Linked DNA regions of Homo sapiens: regions 1, 3 and 4 are each linked to region 2. The links are contacts of gene promoters, found by promoter capture Hi-C in blood cells and fetal thymus (Javierre and others, 2016). All regions are on one chromosome and are shown on one strand. Each heading gives the region's core, a stretch centred on a gene start or on the middle of the fragment in contact. The rest is flanking DNA. Distances are from core to core; before and after follow the strand shown. Region 1 overlaps MECP2 (methyl-CpG binding protein 2). Region 2 holds the start of SLC10A3 (solute carrier family 10 member 3). Region 3 overlaps MECP2 (methyl-CpG binding protein 2). Region 4 overlaps MECP2 (methyl-CpG binding protein 2).

The links. The method cuts DNA at HindIII sites, captures the fragments that hold promoters and counts their contacts. A CHiCAGO score of 5 or more calls a contact.
Region 1: a contact is called between a fragment that was not itself captured here and the fragment with the promoter of SLC10A3 in region 2, in 4 of 17 cell types (total B cells, activated CD4 T cells, monocytes and 1 more). The highest score is 7.7, in total B cells.
Region 3: a contact is called between a fragment that was not itself captured here and the fragment with the promoter of SLC10A3 in region 2, in 1 of 17 cell types (monocytes). The highest score is 5.8, in monocytes.
Region 4: a contact is called between a fragment that was not itself captured here and the fragment with the promoter of SLC10A3 in region 2, in 2 of 17 cell types (naive CD4 T cells and naive CD8 T cells). The highest score is 5.6, in naive CD4 T cells.

The regions. Positions count from the first base shown.
Region 1 is chrX:154,089,578-154,092,277 of GRCh38, forward strand. The region is part of intron 1 of MECP2 (methyl-CpG binding protein 2); the gene reads right to left. Among named protein-coding and RNA genes, the nearest start is that of MECP2, 6.8 kb to the right of the region's middle. The HindIII fragment of the contact is 6,480 bases long and covers 1-2,700 here.
Region 2 is chrX:154,489,360-154,492,059 of GRCh38, forward strand. SLC10A3 (solute carrier family 10 member 3) reads right to left here and starts at 1,270. Exons shown (of 2, transcript NM_019848.5): 1 at 948-1,270. RefSeq lists a silencer at 993-1,502. The HindIII fragment of the contact is 4,164 bases long and covers 1-2,294 here.
Region 3 is chrX:154,056,587-154,059,286 of GRCh38, forward strand. All of the region lies in intron 1 of MECP2 (methyl-CpG binding protein 2), which reads right to left. Among named protein-coding and RNA genes, the nearest start is that of MIR718, 38 kb to the left of the region's middle. The HindIII fragment of the contact is 851 bases long and covers 894-1,744 here.
Region 4 is chrX:154,039,273-154,041,972 of GRCh38, forward strand. The region is part of intron 1 of MECP2 (methyl-CpG binding protein 2); the gene reads right to left. Among named protein-coding and RNA genes, the nearest start is that of MIR718, 21 kb to the left of the region's middle. RefSeq lists an enhancer at 1,776-2,276. The HindIII fragment of the contact is 464 bases long and covers 1,081-1,544 here.

The sequences.
Region 1 (2,700 bases), core at 177-2,676, 400 kb before region 2:
ATGCATGACGGTAAGTCAGCCCTGGACTACACTGCTATTTAAAAGAAATGAGGCAGAGATGAATATATGAGATGGAAAAATGCAGAATATGTATATATAACACCATCCTGAGGCCAGGCACGGTGGCTCACGCCTGTAATCCCAGCACTTTGGGAGGCCAAGGCAGGTGGATCGCCTGAGGTCAGGAGTTCGACACCAGCCTGGCCAACATGGTGAAACCCATCTCTACTAAAAATACAAAAATTAGCTGGGTGTGGTGGCAGGCGCCTGTAATCCCAGCTACTCAGGAGGCTGAGGCAGGAGAATCACTTGAACCCAGGAGGTGGAGGTTGCAGTGAGCCAAGATTGTGCCACTGTACTCCAGCCTGGATGACAGAGCAAGACTCCATCTCAAAAAAAGAAAAAACAAAACAAAACAAAAACCCTCCTGTTAATTACAACACAAAAAGTACACAGTTTAGTCTTAGAAGACTTAGAAGGATCTACATTAAGCTATTAACAGCAGTTATTCTGGGTAGTGGGAGCAGAGATTAAGCGGGGAGCTTTCATTTTTTTACCTGATACTTTTTTTTTTTTTTTTTTTTGAGACCGAGTCTCACTCTGTCACCCAGGCAGGAGTTCAGTGGTGTGATCTTGGCTCACTGCAACCTCCGCCTCCCAGGTTCAAGTGATTCTCCTGCCTCAGCCTTCCGAGTAGCTGGGACTACACGCTCAAGCCACCATGGCCAGCTAATTTTTGTATTTTTAATAGAGATGGGGTTTCGCCGTGTTAGCCAGGCTGGTCTCGAACTCCTGACTTCAGGTGATCCACCCGCCTAGGCCTCCCAAAGCGCTGTGATTACAGGCATGAGCCACCTTGCCCAGCCACCTGATCAATTTTTAAGTGGTTTGATTTTTCTATAAATCCATGTATTATTTTAGTAATTCTTTAAAAAGTAAAAGAAGAAAAATAGATATCAAGCATTTATCTACTAAAGACGGGTACTGTCCTTTGAGAATTCCCTCAAAAGTTCTTTGAAGCTCAAATGGCTACATCTTTCCCATTCATAAGATACTTTTTAAATTTCCTCTTTCTACATTTCTTTTTAAAAGTTTATTTTCAATTAGCTTCCTCAGGTTGAACTCTCTGTACATTTCTTAGGAGAAACTGTATGGTGTCAACACTGCCTGTTTTATAACATCCATTCGTAATCTGTAATCTGAGAAAAAGACTCGTAAAAACCCAAACCACCCTCCAGGCCTAACATCTTCCAGAAGAAACCCATTCACTGCCCATATTACATTTAGTCCACACAATTTCTGAGACAAAGCACAAAGCACTAGCCATACAACTCCCACCAGCATAAATACGTGGAGTACAAAGAATGTCCTGTCAGCTGGGCCCAGAGCACACCCCACAGCAGTAAAAGAGAATGACAATTTGAGTCACAGGATCAGGAGCAGAATCAAATTTGGGACTTGAGGCAGTGTGATGCTCTTCTGGTCTTCCGCTTCCTTCCACACCTTCTATTCTCCTTCAGCCAAACCTTGCCCTCACATAATCCCTAAGCAGGCTATTTCTTATGGATGTCTACAACAGCTTCACACTGAGGTGTCAGAAACCACTAGAGAGACAACAAAGAACGACTTAGGGTCTCAGTCGGAATCACAATGGCCGCATAAGTGAAAACTCACATTTTTGCTTAGGGGAAAAAAAATGGGAAAATTCAATTGGAACATTCTGCTTTACCACACAGAAGTTCTGAAATCCACATGTCAAAACATCAAATGCGGAGTGACCACTAATCAAAAAGACAAAACAAAACAACAACAACAACAACAACAACAAACAGCTTGAGATGTTGAGCCTGAAGGTTGAGAAATTAAGGAACCATTCATTTTTACAAAACTAAAGTCCACACAATGGTGCCAAGTAGTTCAAACTGCAGCTGATACAGCACCTGAGTGTCAGACCTAGAATGACTGGGGCCCCCAGGTTTTTACAAAGTACTCATCCTCCTCTAGAGTCCCAAGAACCAGATGTATATCTGGGTACTCTCTTTAGTTACCATGGGAGGAGTGTAGCAAGCACATGACATTAGCCATGGCCCCCGGTGTTCTGAGACAGCTTTCAGGAGGGTGTCCTTCTAGGGAACCAACCACATACCAGTTCCCATATCTGAAAATGCATTACCACTGCTCACTAATGTTGACCACTAAGCCATTTACCCCAAACCAAAGCAAACACATGCTGAAGACCGCTAAGGCAACAGCAGCAGCGCAAAAGGGCTCAGTGCAAGCGCTCTCAGCTCAGCTGACCTGCTTCAAGGTGAACTGAAGTTGCAGATCACCAGTTCCGGCTCTAATCTGACGCCCGCCCCCAGATCACGCTGTGGCGACCAAGTAACCCTACACACACTGACCTTTCAGGGCTCAGGGAAGTGACTTTTTTTTATTATATGGCACAGTTTGGCACAGTTATGTCTTTAGTCTTTGGGGTACTTTTATACTGTCCAAGAGTAGTATATTTTTTTCCTCTTTTCCTTTTTTTTTTTTTTTTAAAAAAAAAAAAAACAGATGGCCAAACCAGGACATATACTAAAAAAAAAAAAAGGAAGGTTACTTACCTGAGCCCTAACATCCCAGCTACCATGGAATCCTGTTGGAGCTGGTCTACAGAAGCAAGGTGTATTCTGGGGAGTCACATGTCACATCAAAGCA
Region 2 (2,700 bases), core at 20-2,519:
TGGGAAGCAGGTCCTCCCTCCCCAGGGAAGTTGCCAGAAGGGGCGGCAGGAGTGGATCAGACAGAGCCACATGTCTACTGGGGGGGTTTCTCCTCCTTTTGTCAGAGCTCCCACTGGGCTGAGACTTTGACCTCCCAGAGCCACTGCGTTACATCTGAGAGGCTGTGCTCAGAGTGCAGGGCTCCTTCCCATGCCCACATGCGCCCCTACCAGAGCCTCAAACTCAGTGGAATTATGAGTGTTTCTAGCGGCCAGCAACACCCCCTTCCACTTCTCAATCTGGGCAGCGACCACCGTAGTGTCACATCACCTGCTAGAACTGGGGCAACCAGGATGGAGACACAACAGCTTTACATCACCCCTGTCAGTTGCCTCATGCACTGTTGTGTCCCAGTCCTAGAAGAGGACTGCCTCTATAGATCCTATCCGTCTTTGGCATTGGCCTCCCGTCATCTGAGACTGGGGTGAGGCAGAAGTAGGGAGCAGAGGTTAGGTTAAGCCAAAGGCTCATCCCGGCGAGCCTCCCCTATCCCTAGCTTAGGATGACATGGCCTCTGCTGGCTTGAAGTTCGGGTCACTTACCCTGGAGGCCTTGGTCCAGCCATGTGTCTTACCTCTGAAGAGGGAGGCAGGAAAACCAGTGGGGTGGGAGAGGCAAAGTACAGGAGCTAAGATGAAGGCACCAGGACTGAAGCCACCGGGGTGATACAAACCAGCTCAGAAGGGAAAGGCTAGGGGCCATCCACCCCATGCCCCATCCCTCCAGTAGGGCTGGCGGCTCTGAGTCACTCCAAGAGGGGTTTGGCCCAGATCCCACACCATTTCTGCTTGAGGGGCCGACAGAGTTTGAGCAGATGCACCCACAAGGCAGGGGAGGGAGTCCCGGCCCTTCCAAAACGGCCAAGTGTTCGGGGTAACTGGCAGTGCTAACAGGGGCTCCTCCCTACCTGGGAGTCCGGAAGTTGTCGGACGGGTGGCTAGCAGAGCTCGGGCGCGAACCTGGGAGGGAGGAAAGGAAGGGCACGCCGCCGTCCCACAGCCGGCGACCCGCTCGGGCCGTCTCGGAGTCTGGGGGGGCCCCTTACGCCATTCCTGGGCCCCGCGGCCCCGCCAGGCCTCGCAAACGCGCGGCGGCGGCGGCGGCCCTTCCCTGCCAGGCCCGGCCGGGCGCCCGAGTGGGCGATCGCGGAGCAGGGTCGGGGCCAGAGGCCGCCTCCCTTCCGGAGGCTCTCACCTGCCACAGCCACCGCGCAGCTTAGCTGCAGCGTCTGCCTGGCCGGCAGTCGCCCGCGAGCTCGGCCTGTCAGGGCCCCGCCCCACCGAAGCCCCTCCCTTCCCCGCCCCGCGCGTCAGGGCCCCGCCCCCCCCTCAGCGTCCAGCTCAACTCCGGCTGCTCGCTGGGCTCCGACCGGTTGTGACGTCTCTGGGAGTGACGCGCCGGCGCGGGCGCGGTGCGGGTGAGCTGGTCGGCGCTTGGCGCTGCCTGGACCAATCGCTTGGCAGCGCATCTGAAGCTGTTGTGATCGCTGGGGCGACCCGCTCTGGGAGGGAGCCCCAGGCATTCCCGATTACGCTGCGACCTCTAAAGGCAATGGGACAGAGGGTTAGACGTTAGCAGGGCTGGGTGCCCGGGGTTAGGGTTTTGGCCACGTTGCCGCTCAAGGTGCCCAGCCCTGGGGCCCCAGGGTTGAGTTTGACCGACCTGGACGCCAGGCTCTGTGCGGAGTTCCTCCTTTCGTTCAAGTATTGACCGAGCGCCTATTTCTATTTTATGTATTTATTTTCTGAGACTGAGTCTTGCTCTGTCACCCAGCCCGGAGTGCAGTGGCGCGATCTCGGCTCACTGCAACCTCCGCCTCCCTGCAACCTCCGCCTCCCGGGTTCAATCCATTCTCCTCTCTAAGCCTCCCGCGTAGCTAAGATTACAGGCGTCCGCCCCCGCGCCCGGCTAATTTTTGTATTTTTAGTAGAGACGGGGTTTCACCATGTTGGCCAGGTAGGTCTCGAACTCCTGACCTCGTGAGCCACCCGCCTCGGCCTCGCAAAGTTCTGGGATTACAGGCGTGAGCCACTGCGCCCGGCGTAGGCCAGTTTCTATACTGTGGAACATTAAGTGGACTTGTCTGCTTTTCCAAACTTTGGCGCCACTAGCAAGGTGCAGAGGCTTTGTGGTAAAGGAAGAGAAAGAAGGCAGAAAGTTGGGGAAAAATATGATGGGAATGTGTAGAAAGAAGGTCGGAAGGCAGTACAGAAGACAGTACAGAGTTGGGGGGGGGGGGATCATATGTTCCCAAAGCTTATTGGTGCAACTGGAATCAATCTGCACACTTCAACCTCTTGTCAAGACTGTGATGGAGTCGGAGGTATTTGCCCCGGGTAGGTGCACAAGACGCATGGTTGCAGATGTGGAAACAGAACAGAACAAAACCACCCACGTCTCTAATGTTTCAAATGAATGATATACATTTGTTTTTATTACTTATTTATTTATTTTTGAGACAGGGTCTCGCTCTGTCGCCTAGGCTGGAGTGCAGTGGCACAAGCTCGGCTGACTGCAACCTCCGCCTCCCGGATTCAAGCGATTCTCCTGCCTCAGCCTCCTGAGTAGCTGGGATTACAGGCGTGCGCCACTACCACCCGGCTAATTTTTATATTTTTTAGTAGAGACAGGGTTTGCCATGTTGGCCAGGCTGGTCTCAA
Region 3 (2,700 bases), core at 69-2,568, 430 kb before region 2:
GATGTTGCAAATGTATAAACTATAACATGAACAACTTTATGCTAGTCAGACAAAATGGACAAATTCCTAGAAAAAAAAATTTAACAGCTTACAGTAGCCCAAGCAGGTGCAGGGAAAATAAAAATAGGTTTAGATGTGTCTGCGTGTACATAGAACACCTCAAAAGACACAGACAAGACCCTGGATGCAGCCGTTCCCTGAAGAGAGGCCTAGGCAGCTGGGAGACCAGGGCAGCAGGGACACTCAGACCTTGCATCACTCTGGAGTTTGCACTTCCTGAATTGTGAAGCATGCACATGTCTCACTTATGCAACAGTGAATCCAAACGTGCCTGTATACAAGGAAAGGCCTCACCTGGCTGCGCCGTGGAGGCTGGCCTGGCGTGTGGAGCAGGCAGAACATTAGCAAGCTACCGAGCAGGTGCAGGTATGAACATCAGCTGACGCTGGCTCTTTGCTTTCTTTTTAATCTTGACAAATTTGGTAGGTGAAAAGGCATCATTTTTGTTCTCGTTTGCATCTCTTTGATTACCAGCAGGCAGAACTCTTTTCCTATCTTCATTGGCCATCTGTATCTCTTCTTTTATGAATTTCCTGTTCATAGTCTTTGTTCATTAGTGGTGACTAGTGGTAAGTTAGCAATAAGAACTGTTTGCATTCAAGTCTAGACTGAGAAGGAAATTAAAAAATCTGCCCATGTATTCTCACAATAAATGACTACTGACTAGCCTGAGATAATTGTACCCACTGCCCAGTCACAGGCATTAAGCCTAGGATGATTCATTTCAGACTTGTCCCTGACCTTCCTCATACCCTTTCCAGAAGGGCCCCTTGAGCTGCTATGATACTCCTAAATCACTATCCCATTACCCAAATGATGGAGAGCCAATCAAAAGCTTAGACCAGGACGCTTTCCCAAATTATGTCCCAATACCTTCACAATGATCACTTTATATACAATCTCACTGAATGCTCAGCAACACACGAGAGCAATGTTTAACTGAGGGCAACACTGAGGCTCAAGGAGGGCAAGTGACTTGATTGCTGAGGTCACCTGCTAGGTGCAAGAGCTGAGAATTAATCCCAAGGCTACCTGGCTCAAAAAGCCTAAGCTCATCTACTATACTTGAGGCGAAATCATGAAAGTGTGTTTTTACCTTGCCCAGACCCTGCACACTGCATCAAGGTCCTGAGTTTCAAGCAACAGAAATCAACTCTGGTTAAATTCAATCACAAAGGAGTTCTTGGGCAGCAGATCTGGAAATGGAGAGAGAACTAGAGAACTAGGCTCAGAAAAGCAGCAGGAATAGAGGCTGCACCACTGCAAACACAGCCAAGGTTATACTGCAGGGACCTGCTGGTTGGGACACCCACCCTGGGCACTGTTGCATGTCATCACTGGACATTAGCCACCACTGCTGGTTTTGTGACTCAACTGCCACCACCATGACTAATCCCTCACTGTCCCTCAAGAGTCAAAGTCCCTGAAGGCAGAATGGGTTTGGCCAAACCTAGGCTTCATCGCCATCCCCTAGTTTCCAGAGAGCAAGGGGAGGGAATATATCCATTCCCCTGTGGCAGGCACTGCCAGTTGTCCCCCAACATCCATGTTCTCCATCTGCCTTACTAATGAGACCCTGCGCTCAGCTAAGGAGAGTTATTCCCCGCTTCCCAGCAGACCATGGGACTACGTTATGGCTAAGGAGACAGTGGCCGAGTGCACTCCTGTTCATCGTTCTCTTTCAAGCTTGCTCTTGTTCTACTGACTATGGGCGGAGCACACCTCCCACCCACTGACTCTGGGCTTGCTCACGTGTTGATGGGATGGGGGAAGAAGAGGCTTTAAGAGGCTTCTGTGACTCTGCTCACTCCTCTTGGACTCCTGACCTCCGCCTACGAAGAGACTTCCCCTGGCAGCTGCTTCTCCCTCCTGGGTCCTGGAACGACAGGCTTGAGAACAGATCTGAATCCCATCTTGCAGCTGACCCAGACCCATGTGTGAGAAATAATAATTGCTGTTATAGCTACTGAGCTGCTGGTGCTGTTTGTTCCCTAGGACAAGATGATGGGTGTGAAGATGGAAATGGAAATATTGAATGGGCCTAGAAGTTAAGATGTCAAGTGCCATTTTGCCTTTCCCCTATGACCTCTTTCTTCCTACCTGGAGGAGTGGATGCAATGACTAGAGCAGCAACCGTCATCTCACAACCAAGAGGCAATCTTGAGAAATGGAAGACACCCACTGAGGGGCCCTGGGTCCTGGATCCTTACAAAGCCACTGCAGTGGTCATGGACAGCATGAGAAGGAAGTACACCACAGGCCCCCAACCCCATCTTCAGGTTTTCTTAGGTAGAAACTAGGGTCCACCTGCCTCTTACTAAGATATACACAATGGGGAGACTTTTAACACAAAAAAAGGTATGAAGATGGTCAGAAGCCAAAAAAGCAACAAAATGTTCATGATATGCCGTATGTGGGGTTTACTCACTACACTGCTTTTCCACCGAGTTAGCATAATCACTATAACTCAACCCATTGAAAAAATGACAAAACAGATTCTGAGATTCTCTTCCTATTTCTGTTAGCTAAAAAAGCAGCCTTTGAATTGTTTATAAGTGAATTCAAGAGATAAAAATAAACCCAGATAATTCAGAATGTACTGAGTACAACACATATGCCTTCTATGTGATAAGCTCCCAG
Region 4 (2,700 bases), core at 63-2,562, 450 kb before region 2:
GAACTTTCAGGTTCATCTGGAGAACTTTCATCTTTCAGGTTCAGTTAGGATGGCACTTCTAGACCGGGCGCAGTGGCTCATGCCTGTAATCCCAACACCTTAGGAGGCCGAGGTGAGCAGATCACTTGAGGCCAGGAGTTTAAGACCAGCCTGGCCAACATGGCAAAACTCCGCCTCTACTAAAAATACAAAATATTTGCCGGGTGTGGTGGTGTGCGCCTGTGGTCCCAGCTACTCGGGGACTGAGGCATGAGAATCGCTTGAACCTGGGAGGCGGAGGCTGCAGTGAGTTGAGATAGTGCCATTGCACTCCAGACCAGGCGATAGAACAAGATTCCACTTCCCAAAAAAAAAAAAAAAAAGATGGCACTTCTGAGACACCTTCCCTGCTCCTGCCTCCCTCCCTGCTCTATGAGCCAGGGCACCCGAGCCCTCAGTGTACTTAGAACACCCCACTGTGCGTGCCAACCCCCATCTCCCCGCTCAATGCATAATGCCAGGCACAGGTGCAACCCTTACTCAACACATGCTGGATGAATAACCACAACACGGACGCAGCGCTCCACGTGCTTCTTCTGATGGCTGGAGACCTTCGACCGTAAGCTTCTAGCAAGGAGAGGCTAGCTCAGTGCTGAAAAAAAGGTGGGCTCTGAATTGGTGAATAAACAAATGATGAGTTTGGGACATATCAGTAGTCCGTTGGACACTGGTGGCTTGGAGATGGCGGAAGATGAGGTGGAGGAAGTCACTGAGGAGGGCCTCAGTGCCCCAGGGACAGTAGCATGGAGGATGGTTACGCCAGAGGATGGATCGACTTCTAGCCATGTGGTGGTCAGGTATGCAGACACCTCTCCTGCTGAAACAACTACAACTGCCAAACTGAGTATCTTACAGAAGCTGCTAGAGAAGCCACCCACAAGCTGGCAAGAAAGGAAGGAATACACAGGCTGAAGAGCAAATAAAAGTACGGGGCCCTTTTCTGTGGAGAAATCTGGCAGGCACCACCTTAACACACGACCAAACTGAGCTCAGGCCCCTCAGTGCTGCTGAGATGAACCAGCATCACGAGTAGGAGACTGAAGCTTACCGTGAGGAGACAGCAGGAAGAGTCCAGAGAGGGCGTGCCATGCAACCACGGTCTGGACTCAAGATGATGAGAGAAAACAAGGGGGTGGGGGAACATTTCTGATAAAGGAGACTGAAGGGATGACACAATCGAATACAACACACAGTCCTGGACTCTGCATTCCAGGCTCAAAGGCTCTAAAAAAGGCATTTATGGGGTATGTGGAGAAATGTAAGGTTCTGTGTTAGCTCATTGCTAAACTTCCTGAGTGTCTTAACTGTACTGTCTGCTCTTAGGAAAGGCATGCTTAAACGTTTAGGAGTGAAACAGCACGAGGACTATGACTAACTCTCAAGTGATCAATGGGCTAGGGGAAATACAGTGCCAATATGGTAACATGTTTAAAAGAAGGGAGATGACATCAATATAATCAGAAGCTATGCCAACTGACAGTAATATTTTGAAGCAGTGGTAGGCAAGCTTTTTAACAATTAAAGAGAATGCCTTCATATTACACAAAGACATTAAGAAAAAAAGCTGAAGGCTGGGCACGGAGGCTCACACCTGTAATCCCAGCACTTTGGGAGGCTGAGGTGGGCGGATCACGAGGTCAGTTCGAGGCCATCCTGACCAACATGGTGAAACCCCCTCTCTACTAAAAATAAAAAATTAGCCAGGTGTGGTGGCGCGCACAAAGGGACCGGGGCGGTGCTGGCGGCGATGCCAACAGACCTCAGTGTACTGTGGGGTTCTTTCAGCCAGAACTGTTCATGGTTTCATCAGTGAGCTCCAGTTACCACACCACACAAGTTTGGAGTGATCCACCCCGCCCCAGTTTTTCCTGCACGAACTCATGTTTTTATTGTGTGATTTACAGAACACAAGATCTTTTTCTAAGAATGCACACATCACACGTTGAAGCAGAAAGGCCTTTACAAAATCTTAAAATACCTACAAAATATGAAGTAAGGCTCTTAAGAAATAAAATATTCAATGATTTTGCTGCTAGAATGCAAACATTAGATCAAATCCTTCATTTGATCTAGCAAAGGAAAATTAGAGTTGCAGGAATCTTGTTTTCAGGCCAAACCATGACATCCTGAGGGGTCTGATGGCAGGAACTGCCTGCATTTTCCTCATGAATGTGACCTGCAGTGATCTTGTGAGAAAGGCCCGGAAGGCCGTGCAAATTACAGGGGTACAAGCAACAGCTGGCAGGTGTGGCCAGACAGGCAACTGCAGTTAAGGAAAGACTACTCAATCCCTGAGGTTTTCAGATTTTACAAAAAGGCAAAAAAGCCAGGTGAACAAGGCAGATGAAAGGTATTTTTCACTTGAATTGGAATCCAGCCCCCTCCCTGTCCCCTGGAGTGAGCTCCAGAGAAACTTCCAGAGCCCCAGCAATATCCCAACCTTTCGTAAATTCACTCATGCTCGCCACTTTCAGGAGATGGCATTTCTCAGCACCTTTCACTTCCAGTTATCCCTCGGCACAGCACAAAGAGCTAAACTACCACTCGAGGCAGTTAACCTAAGGGCAGGGTGGTGGCTACAGCTCCAGGTGAACAGTCTGGGACCAGAGGAAATAATGAGCCCCCCCTTGTACTGGCTGCTTCCACCCTAAAGTGTCATCC